Linked DNA regions of Homo sapiens: regions 2 and 3 are each linked to region 1. The links are contacts of gene promoters, found by promoter capture Hi-C in human tissues and cell types (Jung and others, 2019). All regions are on one chromosome and are shown on one strand. Each heading gives the region's core, a stretch centred on a gene start or on the middle of the fragment in contact. The rest is flanking DNA. Distances are from core to core; before and after follow the strand shown.

Evidence for each region. Contacts are between HindIII fragments. The study calls those that stand out against the background at their distance.
Region 2: a contact is called between a fragment that was not itself captured here and the fragment with the promoter of SGSM1 in region 1, in 1 of the 25 tissues and cell types used here (dorsolateral prefrontal cortex).
Region 3: a contact is called between a fragment that was not itself captured here and the fragment with the promoter of SGSM1 in region 1, in 2 of the 25 tissues and cell types used here (IMR-90 fibroblasts and heart right ventricle).

What each region holds. Positions count from the first base shown.
Region 1 is chr22:24,803,207-24,807,460 of GRCh38, forward strand. It overlaps SGSM1 (small G protein signaling modulator 1), which reads left to right and starts at 3,005. Exons shown (of 25, transcript NM_001098497.3): 1 at 3,005-3,138; 2 at 3,235-3,278. The coding sequence starts at 3,120. RefSeq lists a silencer at 2,843-3,052. The HindIII fragment of the contact is 18,100 bases long and covers 1-4,254 here.
Region 2 is chr22:24,560,795-24,565,048 of GRCh38, forward strand. All of the region lies in intron 2 of SNRPD3 (small nuclear ribonucleoprotein D3 polypeptide), which reads left to right. Among named protein-coding and RNA genes, the nearest start is that of SNRPD3, 6.9 kb to the left of the region's middle. RefSeq lists an enhancer at 1,119-1,620. The HindIII fragment of the contact is 9,525 bases long and covers 1-4,254 here.
Region 3 is chr22:25,022,037-25,026,290 of GRCh38, forward strand. KIAA1671 reads left to right here. Exons shown (of 13, transcript NM_001145206.2): 2 at 3,597-3,748. Among named protein-coding and RNA genes, the nearest start is that of KIAA1671, 71 kb to the left of the region's middle. RefSeq lists an enhancer at 3,912-4,254. The HindIII fragment of the contact is 3,060 bases long and covers 592-3,651 here.

The sequences.
Region 1 (4,254 bases), core at 1,755-4,254:
CCCCTAGTGGTGAGTGTTCCAACTGCAGCAGGGTGCAATCCCTGGTCCCATGGAATTCAGGGTTCCAATGTCACCTGCTCAGTGGGGCCTCCCTCAACCACTCTGTTTCATAATAAAATCCCCATCTGTCTGGGCCCTCCCTGTCTCCCCTGCCTACTTTGTTTTCCTCCAGAACTTTCCAACATACTCTATTATTTGCTTATTTTATTGTCTGCTTCCTAAGCTCCACGAGGGCAGAGCTTTTTGCCTGTCTCGTTCACTTAGAAGTATCTAGCACAGTCACCTGGCACACAGTAGGTGTTCATAAATATCTGTTGACCTGAGTTGCATGCAGGTCAACCATGCCCTCCTGCCAGTTGCAACTGCACCAAACACCATGGAGTCCTTTATCTTGGAGGAAAAGCTCCAGGTTTTCAAGGACCAGCACAGGTCAACTTCCCAGACTTTGTGCTTGGCAGGAAAAGGAAAAATGTGGGTTTTGAAAAATGATTCCCTAGAGTGAGGCTTAGGCACCCTACCACCTTCCTAAAGTACCCCAGTTAACTTAGGGGTGAAGCCAAGGAGAGGAACTAATGGATCAATCACTTTGGTCCTCAGGTCAGAATCCTGGCGGCCACACACTTGTTAAACAAACAGGGATGAAACCCCCTCCAGGCTTGGCTTTGTCAATGACATAAGGCTCATAGGGTTAGCGTGGGGTGGAAGGAGGGTCAATAAGATCATGTGAGCAAAACCCAAAGCCCTTAGCGCAGTGCCTGCCACATAGTAGGTGCGCAATATATGATTATTTTTGCTGCCAAGCAACCATTTCCCATTCTCCTGGGGGACTTGCTGGAGATTGTGGAGCAGGGGTTTGTGATTGAGACACCTCTCCCCAAGCCAATGGGCAGGCTTGTGTCCCAGGTCAGGACAATCAGGCACTCCCTCCATAGGATGAAAACCTTAAACGAATGGCATTCTCTTTACCAGAGCAGCAGTGCCCTAACCACACTGTCCTTGCCAGGCAAATATTCCCAAGATTCCCCTTTCTGGCCTTCCAGAGCCACCTTGATTTCATCCCATTTCCCAGTTCTCCAGGCTCCCATGGGCTCTGGGATCACATATTATCTTCCCAGTTTATTTCCTTTTGCCTGAGGAAGCCAAAGTCAGCTTCTGTGGCTTACGGCCAGAGACCCCTGACACTGACCAATGGAAAAAAGGGGGCTCTGGATCCACTGCTGCACGGAGAGGCACTCTAAGCTGCCCTCTAGTCCTTCTGAAGGAAGGCCTGAATACTGGGGGACCCTAAAAGGCATTGCAAATCCTTAACATCACCATCAAAGTCATACAGGGTTTTGGCCCTGCACCTCTCTGGCCAACATCCCACCACCGTCCCCATTGTTCACACCACTCCAGCCCCACAGGCATCTGTGCTATTTGTCACTGTTTGACTGGACACACTCCCTCCTCAGGGACTTTGCATTTGCTGTTCCCTTGACTCAACTGCTCTTCCTCCAGAAATCCCCATGGCCTACTCCTTTTCCTCTTTGCTTAAATGTCACCTGCTCAGTGGGGCCTCCCTCAACCACCCTACTTCAGAATACGATCCCCAGGGGTCTGGGCCCTCCCTGTCCCCCTTGCCTACTTAATTTTTCTCCAGAACTTTCCAGCATGGTCTGTCCTTTTCTTACATATTTTGTTGTCCGCCTCCTAAACTCCATGAGGGCAGAGTTCATTGTCTGTCTTGCTCACTTAGAAATCTCTAGCACAGTCACTTGGCACAGAGTAGGTGCTCAATAAATATTGACCTGAGTTGCATTCTGGGTGGATACAGTTAGGGACTTGGGGTGACCAGGGGCTCTTGATGGAACAAGGCTTTTCCCACAGAGCCCACTGCTTGCTCAGCCCCAGAGATCCTGGCTGACAAGTGCCTCCTTTTGGGGCCAGACTCCTGGGAAAACCCCACTCCTCCAGTGACCTGCATGTCGGGGAGGGAGCCACTTAAGTCCCGGCCTCTCCTGAATGGATAACCAGTGTATCTTGGAAGACTCTTTTTTTTTTTTTTTTTTTTGAGATGGAGTTTCACTTTTGTTGCCCAGGCTGGAGTGTGGTGGCACAATCTTGGCTCACTGACACCTCTGCCTCCAGGGTTCAAGCAATTCTCATGCCTCAGCCTCCTGAGTAGCTGGGATTACAGGAGCACGCCACCATGCCTGGCTAATTTTTGTATTTGTATTTTTTTTATTTTTTGAGACGGAGTCTCACTCTGTCGCTCAGGCTGGAGTGCAATGGCGCCATGTTGGATCACTGTAACCTCTGCTTCCCGGGTTCAAGAGATTCTCCTGCCTTAGCCTCCCCAGTAGCTGGGATTACAGGCAGCTCGCCATCATGTCCGGCTAATTTTTGTATTTTCGTAGAGACGGGGTTTCACTATGTTGGCCAGGCTGGTCTCGAACTCCTGACCTCAAGTGATCTGCCCGCCTCGGCCTCCCAAAGTGTTGGGATTACAGGCGTGAGCCACCGCGACCGGCTGGAAGACCCTCAATAATAATAATTAATAATAATAACAGTAACAGTGGCAAGCATTTATGCTCGCTGGCCTTTCCCCCTGGGTCTGTATTAAGGGCTTCACATCCAATATCTCACTTAAGGCTCAGATCGTTCTGAGACCCATTATGCCCATTTTATACCACATTATACCCATTTTAAAGATGAGAAAACTGAGGCTTGGAGAATATCGGTAGTAGCCCCACCATTTCCTGTGACTTCCTGGAGCCTGGCCCACAGAGGAGGGTTCAGGACGGACGCTTTCCTTCCCCGCCCTAGGGAAGAGGGAGGGACGCGGGCGCTGGCGTGGAGGTTGGGGGAGCCTGAGAGGCTCGGGCGCTGGGTGCGCGGGAGGGAGCGTGCGTGCTTGGCGCGAAGGCTCCTGGCGCAGGCGACCCGGCTGCCCCGCCGAGCGGTGGCTTTCCGGAGGGGTGGGGCGGCCGCCTCGGGTCCTGACGTCGGGCGCCCTCCGGCCGTCACTCAGCGCTCGGCCCCGCCCCGCCGCGGCTGCAGCAGCAGCGCCGCGGCCGGAGGAGCTACCGCCGCCACCGCCGCCACCGCCTCCTGGGACTCGGAACGCAGCGCTCGGAGCCATGGCCTCGGCCCCCGCGGGTAAGAGGCCGCTGGACACGAGGGCGGCGGGAGGGCAGCGCCCGGCCCCCGCACCCTCTCTCGGCTGACCCGCGGCTCTCGTTTCTTGTCCCACAGAGGCGGAGACCCGACAGAGGCTGCTACGCACCGTCAAGAAGGAGGTGGGTGCCGGGGTGGGGGCACTGGGCAGGACTCCCCCGGCAGCAGCGGCCAAACGGGAAAAGAGTCTTCGTGGAAGGGTGGCCTCTGGCGGCGGGGGGGCGGCCAGAACAGGTGTGGGGCTCACCTGGGTGGGCATTGACCTCCCGCAGGGCAGGAGGCGCAGCGAGGGAGTTTGGGGGTGGGCGTAGGTGTGGGGAGGCTTTGGCCCATTTGAGGCTTTTTGCGGGGGCGGATGTAGCGTGAGGGCCCTCCAGGTGTGGGGCACACCTGGATGTATCCCGATAGGACCTCCTCTTGTGGAGGAGCAGGTGGGCGCGGCTCAGGAAGGGGACCTTCCAAGAGAGAGAAGCTGCTAGGGGGACGCCCCCCACAGGGTGTGCTGGAGGAGGGGCTCTGAATGGGGCTGCCGAAGGTGGGGCACGCTTCAGGAAAAGGCAGAAGGAAAATAAAACCTCCCTTCCCAGCCCCCGAATTCTCAGTCCTTGGAGCCACCTCCAAGAGCCAGGGGACTCCCTCCCTGAGAGTCACGGGTCAGTGAGCTGCTCCCCTGGCAGTAGGGGTCCCTTCACTCCCCCCGCCCCACTCCCACCCCACATTCAGAGGGTGAGAATCAGAGAGGTTCTGCCATTCCTCTGCCCCTCCACTCTCCTTGGGGTCAGCGCGTGGAGAGGGGGGCAGTCTAGTCTTTAGGGCTCATGGCCAATGACCTCCCAGAACCCCATAGACAGAATTTATAGTCCTTGGGGTAGCATCTCGATGCCTGGACTGCGTGCTCTGGTGTGTATACCTGCATGGGTGAGGACCTGTGGCTGTGAGTGTGTGCGTATGAGAATGTCTGTGCATCTGTCTGGAGATACCTAAGTGTATCTCTTTGCACTGTGTGTACACGTATCTATGTGTGTCTTTGTATCTGTTTTTGTGAGGGTGGGTCTGTGTGTGTATATTGTGTGGTGCATGAGTCTGTGAATGAGTGAT
Region 2 (4,254 bases), core at 488-2,987, 240 kb before region 1:
TCAGCTCACTGCAAACCTCCGTCTTCCCGGGTTTAAGCAACTCTCTTGCCTCAGCCTCCTGAGTAGCTGGGGTTATAGGCATGGGCCACCGTACCCCACTAATGTTAATATTTTTTGTATTTTTAATAGAGATGGAGGCTCATCATGTTGCCCAGGCTGGTCTCTAACTCCTGAGCTGAGGCAATCTGCCCACCTTGGCCTCCCAAAGTGCTAGGATTACAGGCATGAGCCACTGCACCCAGCCTTTTTTTTCTTTTCCTTTTTCTTTTCTTTTTTTTTTTTTTTTTTTTTTTTTGAGATTAAGCTTTGGTCTGTTGACCAGGCTGGGGTGCAGTGGTTTGATCATAGCTCATGGGCAGCCTTGGACTTCTGGGCTCAAGAGATCTTTTCACCTCAGTCTTCTAAGTATCCAGGACTACCAGTGTGCCCCACCATACCTGGCTAATTTTTAAATTTTTTTGTAGAGACGGAGTCTTGATATGTTTTTCAGGCCAGTTTCAAACTCCTGGCCACAAGTGATCCTGCTGCCTCAGTCTCTCAAACTCCTGGAATTACAGGCATGAGCCACCACATCTGGCCTGTAAAGATTTTTTGTCTCTAAATATGATCACATTCTGAGGTGCTGGGTATTAGGACTTCAACAATGAATTTTTTTGAGGGATACAATTTAGCCTGTAACAGGATGTAGAGGCCTCACTGGGTCTATCAAAACCTAGGCACATTGAATAAGAGCCAGCAGACTGTGGCGTAGCTAAAGCTGGTGGTGGGTGAACTCTGAGCACAGTTTAGTTTGTTCAGCACATCTCAGGCTGTGAGGCTTGCCTGTCCTTCCCAGATCCAGTCATTCTGCCTTTTGGGAATGAGAACATCCTCTTAGCACTTTTCCTTGCTTGTTCAATAACATTTTCTGTTATAAAAGTGGGGTGGGACAAAATGTGGTGGCTACTCCTATAATCCCAACACTTTGAGAGGCTGAGGCAGGAGGATCACTTGAGCCCAGGGGTTCAAGACCAACCTGGGCAACATGACAAGACTTTGTCTGTAAAAAAAATAAAATAGACGGATGTGGTGGCACATGCCTGTAGTCCCAGCCATTCAGGTGGAGGCTGAGTTGGGACGATTACTTGAGCCCAGGAAGTCAAGGCTGCAGTGAGCTATGGAGTGCCACTGCACTCCAGCCTGGGCGACGGAGTGAGACCTAGTCTCACACACACACAAAAGCACACCACAACGATTCGGAAAAGATAAATAGAGGATCTCACTCTGTTGCCCAGGCTAGTCTTGCACTCCTGGACTTAAGCGATCCTCCCACCTTGGCCTCCCAAAGTATTGGAATTACAGGCCTAAGCCACACCTGCCCTGTTTTGGGGTTTTAGTATTTACTTTTTATTCTATCCTCTTTCAGAAATAGTTAGACCCTGTCTCTTCTGAAAAGCAAAAAAGTTTAAAAATTATCTGGATGTGGGGCTGGGCACTGTGGCTCACGCCTGTAATCCCAGCACTTTGGGAGGCTGAGGCGGGCAGATCACGAGGTCAGGAGATTGAGACCAGCCTGGCTAACACGGTGAAACCCTGTCTCTACTAAAAAAAATACAAAAAATTAGCCAGGTGTGGTGGCGGGCGCCTGTAGTCCCAGCTACTCGGGAGGCTGAGGCAGGAGAATGGCGTGAACCCAGGAGGCAGAGCTTGCAATGAGCCAAGATCGCGCCACTGCACTCCAGCCTGGGCGACAGAGCAAGACTCCATCTCCAAAAATAAAAAATATATTATCTGGATGTGATGGCTTATGCCTGTAGTCCCAGCTACTCCATAGGCTGAGGCAAAAAGGATCACTTGAGCCCACCCAGCAGTTCAGGCTGCATTAAGCTCTGGTCGCACCACTGCACTCCAGCCTGGGTGACAGAGCAAGACCCTATCTCTAAAATTAAAAAAATTCTATGGCAGGATAAAAGTAGATGCATAGATCATGGTGCAGGTAAGCTGGGGTAGAATGTAAAATGAAGCCAAGCAGTCAGTATCCAGAAATGTAAACCTGAATCTCTCTGTACATTGAATAAAGGTATATTCCAGTGTAAGATTAAGCAGGGAAGATCATCAGTTCCAAAATGCATAGTGTTCTTAAGTTAAAATAGCAATTGTGTGGATTTCCCTGGCACTCAGATACAGGAGACACTATTAGATGATATCCTCGACAACATCCCCATACAAAATACCCTTTTATGGTCCCTCAAGTAGTTTTAAAGTATCCTGTTATCTTAGCACTGTTTTTGACATTTGAAAATGCAAAATATGGCCAGGCACATTGGCTCATGCCTGTAATCCCAGCACTTTGGGAGGCTGGGCCAGGGGGATCACTTGATCCCAAGAGTTTGGGACCACCCTGGGCAACACAGTGAGACCCTGTCTCATATATGTGTGTGTGTGTGTGTGTGTGTGTGTGTGTGTGTGTATGTGTGTATGTATGTATATATGTATGTATATATATGTGTGTGTGTGTGTATATATATATATATTTTTTTTTTTAAAGGAAGAAGAGGAAATATGTGTATGTGAAACTCAGGATGAGGTCCCTGAAATGGTGCTTATCGGGTCAGAGGGTGTGCATCTGAGGTTAAGCTGGGAAGGCAGGGAGCTTTTGTTCTCCTTCTCATTCCGACAGCTGCAAGCCAAGCACTGGTGGCCAGTGCTGCAGGATAGGGCATCAGCTGCAGGATATGGCATGTTGGTCAAAATGCTGTTGGCATAAGTGAGAAAAATAACAATACTCCAAAATATGTCCCCAGTTTTATAAAAATGGACCCAAATTATAAATGATACAAGCAAATACAGAGAGTAATGGTCAAACCCATTTCACTACATTCAAAATGACTTAATTCTTAGAAGTTTTGGTGGGAGAATGTGGTGTAGAGCTCTGCACAAGCAGACATTGTGCTTTTGGGGCTTCAACATGACCACCCAATCACTGATGGGACTGTTTGAAATCTGTTTTGTTGGCTTTGGCATATAATAGCCATCTTTGGAAAACTGGTCTCTGTATGGAATATGGTCTTGTGTCACTGTATAAAAATGAGAACCCAAAAGAAGCTCTCACATGATTGGGTCAGAAAATTGCCCATAACTATTGCTAGGAAAGTTTTTGAAATCTCTGAATTCAATGTAATTGAATTTCTTTAGACACCTAGCCCTCTAGGTTGAAGGAAAACCAGTTTTTTAAACTTATCGTATACTTTTTTTTTCCTGTACTGTTTGTGTGTGGATTGCATTCATCATGCTCCTCTACCCCATAATACTTTTGTATTTCCTAAGAACAAAGATAGGTAGATGGCCTTAGTTGGTATTCGTATTATAGCAGTGGCATCCAAGCACCTCTGCCTTTGTGTATGTGTGAAATTGTCCTAAAGAATGCATTTCTGGTGTATTGACAGGCCTGAGACACCCCAACACACCTTCACAGTCCTGGAGCTAGCTTTCTCCATCTTGGCCCCAGGTATCTAAGAAAGTCCCACCACTTTGTGCTACAAAGATTCTCTCTCTCCCCCTCAGGATGTCATTTCAGTTGGGTACCTGGCTTATACCATATGTGTTTCATTGTGGCTGTTGAGGAAAGTTGATTAAACTGGGTGTTCCTGCCTGGAGTTGATTAGGATCTGGTTCACTCAAAAGTTGCTGCCTTGGGCTTGTGATACAAACACAGGTCAGGCTTATTAGCAAGCTCTAGCAGGCATGTGTGCAGTGAGACTGTGGGGTTTTGTCCACAGCAAGCTGTTCTTAGCCAGTGCTACAGGGAAAGCGAGAGCAGTAGTGAGCCTGGTTGTTAGGGTTAAAATAGGAGTCAGAGGACACTGGACTCTCCTGCTTCAGCCAGGACATAGTTCATTTATGGAAATGCCTAGATTAAGTCTTGTCGGACTTATGCAACAGCTTCTGTCAGGAAAGGAGTGAGATGTGCCCCTGTGCTGGAGGGAGTGTGGCTTAGCAGTGGCACAGCTCCCAAAACACATTTTAGCTGTCAATCAGATTTAGCATGTACTGAGTCTCTATTATGTATTAGGCAATAGAGACAGCATTTAGACATACTTTGCCTTGTTCATTTTTTTTTTTTTTTTTTTGACAGGGTCTTACTCTGTTGCCCAGGCTGGAATGCAGTGTCATAATCATAGCTCACTGCAGCCTTGAACTCCTGGGCTCCAGCCATCCTCCCACCTCAGCCTCCCAAGTAGCTGGGACCACAGGCATGCACCACCACACCTGGCT
Region 3 (4,254 bases), core at 872-3,371, 220 kb after region 1:
GTGCTGGGATTACAGGCCTGAGCCACCGTGCCTGGCCCCGTTCCTGGCTCTTTGCATGGCTCACTGCACAGGATGGATTTGCAGATTTGGGGACTAAGGTCACATTCCGGAAGATGCTGGAAGGTGTCAGGACCAGCCCACGCCCCTCACCAGATGGTGGCATTCCCAGGAGGTGGCAGCCAGAGACGACTGAATAAATGACTGATAAGCTCTCAGATCGAATTTAAGGGTGTAATTATGAAAGATCTTAAACAGCTGTTAGAATGAATCAACACCTCTGAATCTGGGAGAAAAGCTGCCAAACTGTTTGGTTTTGAATGGAAGTGCTTTTCTTCCCTTCTCTCTTGTGAGGCTTCAAGCTCAGTGGCTGTGTCCCCAGCACCAAGTACAGAACCTGGTGCTTGGGAGGGAGGCAGTGAGCATTGGCAGAAGTAGGGTCACAAGAGTGGACAAATGAATGCTTTCGAATGACTCCTGTTGAATTTCAGCACCTGTTGCTCTTGGGTGACCCCCTTCTCAGACAAATGATTTTTTTTCCTGCATGAAATAGCAGAAAATGGGAATCTTGCACTTTGCAAATTAAGCTTGGGGAGATCAAGCTTGTGGACTTGGCAAGTTCAGCAACAGTAGAGAAACACTCATTGCTAGCCCACTGCCTGGGGTCAGCCTGATGTCCCCTCTCTCACGGTCCTGCCACAGCCTCCTGACCTTCCCAGATGGATGCCTTTGTTCTCCATCTGTTCACCGTGCTGCCCTCCATGATAATTTACATACATATGAAACTAGAGGTGGCTCAGACTTGGTTTCCCTTCTTTCTCTGGGGAGGTCTTGTTGACTTGGCTTTGGTCATAATGGTCAGCTAATACACTGTTTAAAAAAGAGGCCGAGGCCGGGCGCGGTGGCTCACGCCTGTAATCCCAGCACTTTGGGAGGCCGAGGCGGACGGATTACGAAGTCAGGAGATCCAGACCATCCTGGCTAACACGGTGAAACCCCGTCTCTACTAAAAATACAAAAAAAAATTAGCTGGGTGTGGTGCTGGGTGCCTGTAGTCCCAGCTACTTGGGAGGCTGTGGCAGGAGAATCACTTGAACCTGGGAGGCGGAGGTTGCAATGAGCTGAGATAGTGCCATTGCACTCTAGCCTGCGTGACACACCGAGACTCTGTCTCTAAATAAATAAACAGCCAGATGTGGTGGTAGGTGCCTGTAATCCCAGCTTCACGGAGGTTAAGGCACGAGAATCACTTGAACCTGGAAGGTGGAGTTTGCAGTGAGCCGAGATTGTGCCACTGGACTCCAGCCTGGGCTACAAAGTGAGACTGTCTAAAAATATAAAAATAAAAAATAAAATAAATAAAAAATAGTGGACATGTCCACCCCAAGAATAAACAGCATCTAGCCTCTCCGTGAGTGGGCTTCAGAAAGGTTTTCAAAGAGGCTAACATCTCTTAAATCAAGTGTAACATATGTGATAACATTTAAAAGAAGACTTCAAAGCATACAGTTAAATTGGTTTCCCTGTATTTTACAGCAGGTTAAATGAAAACCTGAGAATCATAGGTTTCTAGGTTTGGCTAGGACTTTAAAATATTACGGAGCCATCTACTATGGTGGTTTAAAAACTCCTTTTACTAGGCCGGGTGCGGTGGCTCAATCCCAGCACTTTGGAAGGCCGAGGCGGGCGGATCACAAAGTCAGGATTTCAAGACCAGCCTGGCCAACATAGTGAAACCCCGTCTCTACCAAAAATATAAAAATCAGGCAGGTGTGGTGGCATGCACCTGTAGTCCCAGCTACTCAGGAGGCTGAGGCGGGAGAATTGCTCGAACCTGGGAGGCAGAGGTTGCAGTGAGCTGAGATCACGCCATTGCACTCCAGCCTGGGTGACAGAGTGAAACTCTGTTTCAAAAAAAAAAAATCCCAAAAAACTCCTTTTACTTTTCTTTGTTCATTGATTTATTAATTCATTCATTGACTCATTTGTGCAACTGTGTTTACATATCAGACATCTGCTAGGCATTTGCAATGGTAACTTGAGAGGCAGTTCAAGATACAAAGCAGATGACGGGTCACAGAGGCACTGTTTGGTGTAGAGGAGCGTGGACCAAGGGACTTAATTTATCTTGTCCTTCTCCTTTTACTTCCATGCAGTATAGTCCCTGAGGTGGGTTCAAGGTTCCCAAAGTGGGGTGACATTTGTGTACCATTGATCCTAATTCAGCAAACAGTTGCTCTTGGTGACTCTTTTCCCAGGAAAATCCATGCAGAGAAGCATTCATTCCACATTTGGGCAGGTGAGCTGGTGTGACAGTGTGAGGTTAATGTGGATGTAGCAGGTGCCTGCCCTCGGGGTGGAGCTCCTCTGTGTGGCCCAGTGAAACTGATAGAGGTCTTTGGGTGAGGGTTGGTAGATTGAGCCTCTGGCTTGTGAAACTGATAGGGGTCCCTGGGTGAGGATTGGTGGATTGAGCCTCTGGCTGAGCACTTCACAGCTTTTTGATTCTGTCATTCAGTAGCCACAGCCACAGCTAGAGTAACTCATCTTATGTCCCAGATTGCTTAGAGTCATTTGGCATGAGACTCATGGTATCTGGACTTATTTAGCATCTTAGAGAGTGGGCAGCAGGGGCAGAAGAATATTTCTTCATTCATTTACTTATTAACTCAGCAATGATTTATTTCTCTATTCAGTAATCATGTATCTGGTGCTTTTATGTGCCAGGCTGCTGTGCTAGCCACTAGGGATTTGGGGTGTCCTCTGGCGGGGCTTACCATTGAATGGGAGAGGCTGATGTGAAGGATGATGTCGTATTAAATGTAACAGTGTAGCTATGCTAAGTCCTGCCAAGCCTCCGAGTGTATGTGGTGCTCTGTGAACAGGTAGGAGGGGGTTGTACCGGGTTGAAGGGAGACAGAGATGTGTGAACTGTGGTCTGTGTCTGTGTGTGAGCAAGATGGTTGTCCCAGAGAACAGGCATAGCATGTGCAAAGGCCCTGAGGAGGCATTTGGAGGGCTTCAAAGAGGTACAATGTCCAAATACCGCTAATGTAGCTACCAAGTGAAGCACATCACTTGGTAGCAGCTACCAAGTGAAGCACATCACTTGGTAGCAGCTACCAAGTGAGTCAGCACCTCGAATGCTCAGTAGCTACCTCCTCTAAGTCAAGTGAGTTATGCAGGACCACCAGTTCCAATTCTAGGCAATCAGTCCTATTTGCCCCCACATCCTGCATTTAAAAAGTGACATTTGTTACCCAGTTGTAATTGCTTGTGTGTGTATGTGTGTTTCTTACAGAAGACTGTGAGTTGCATGGTTGCAGGGGATGTTTCATGCTCATCTTTGTACACACCGTAGGTGCTTAATAAATGTATCAGAGAACAGGGAAGATTTTTATTGAGCACGTACTGTGGGCTCAGCACTATTTATGCACACGTACATATAAGGCTACAAAATCGAAAAGCCAAAAGGAGCATACGTTTTACAAGCTGGAGTAGATGCCAGCGGATGCATTTGGAGCTTGAAAGCTTTTGTGCCGTCTGTTCCCATACTGCCAGAACTCCGGAACTGAGGCTGTCATCCTGTGTCTCCTTAGACCTGCTGAAACTCAGCCTGCTGGGACGAGTCTTCTTTCCCCCTTCTTGTTTCTGCCATGGAAGTGTGTGGACAGCCCCATTCATGATGACATGTGACACTACTGGCTTTTCCCGGCAGTCACACCCCCTGACCCAGGGCCTGCCAGCTTGGGTAAGTGGGGCCCATGCTTGACCCAAGCTTGAGGGCTGGAGTGTCCAAGGGCATGGAGAGTGCCTGTGAGTTCTGCCAGAGAATTTTCTCTCTGTCCTTTGAATCCTGTCATTGTTCTGTGTCTCATGTCCTGGCTATTACATATGTATCCTCAATCAGGGTTTCCAGAGGTCACAGCTGCTCTCCCAAAAGGCCAATGGCCCTGATTCTGGGTGGGATTCTGGAGCCTTAGAACTCTGGTTGGGATCTTTGTGTATGGAAATTCTCCAATTCTCAGATTCTTCATATCTGTCCCTCCATTCTACCTCTAACCGTGTCTAGACAGTGTTCTCCAGTTTGGGGAGATGGAATCTGTTAGCACCATCGAGCGTGTAAGGAAGAGAAAATATCAAAATCTGTCTGCCTTTCTTTCCTGGAGGCTGCTGAGTGAGTCAGAGCCGGGGGAGCAGTGTGGGGCCCCAAGGAAGGGAAGTGGAGAGGCTTGTGTTTAACTAAAATACCTTCTA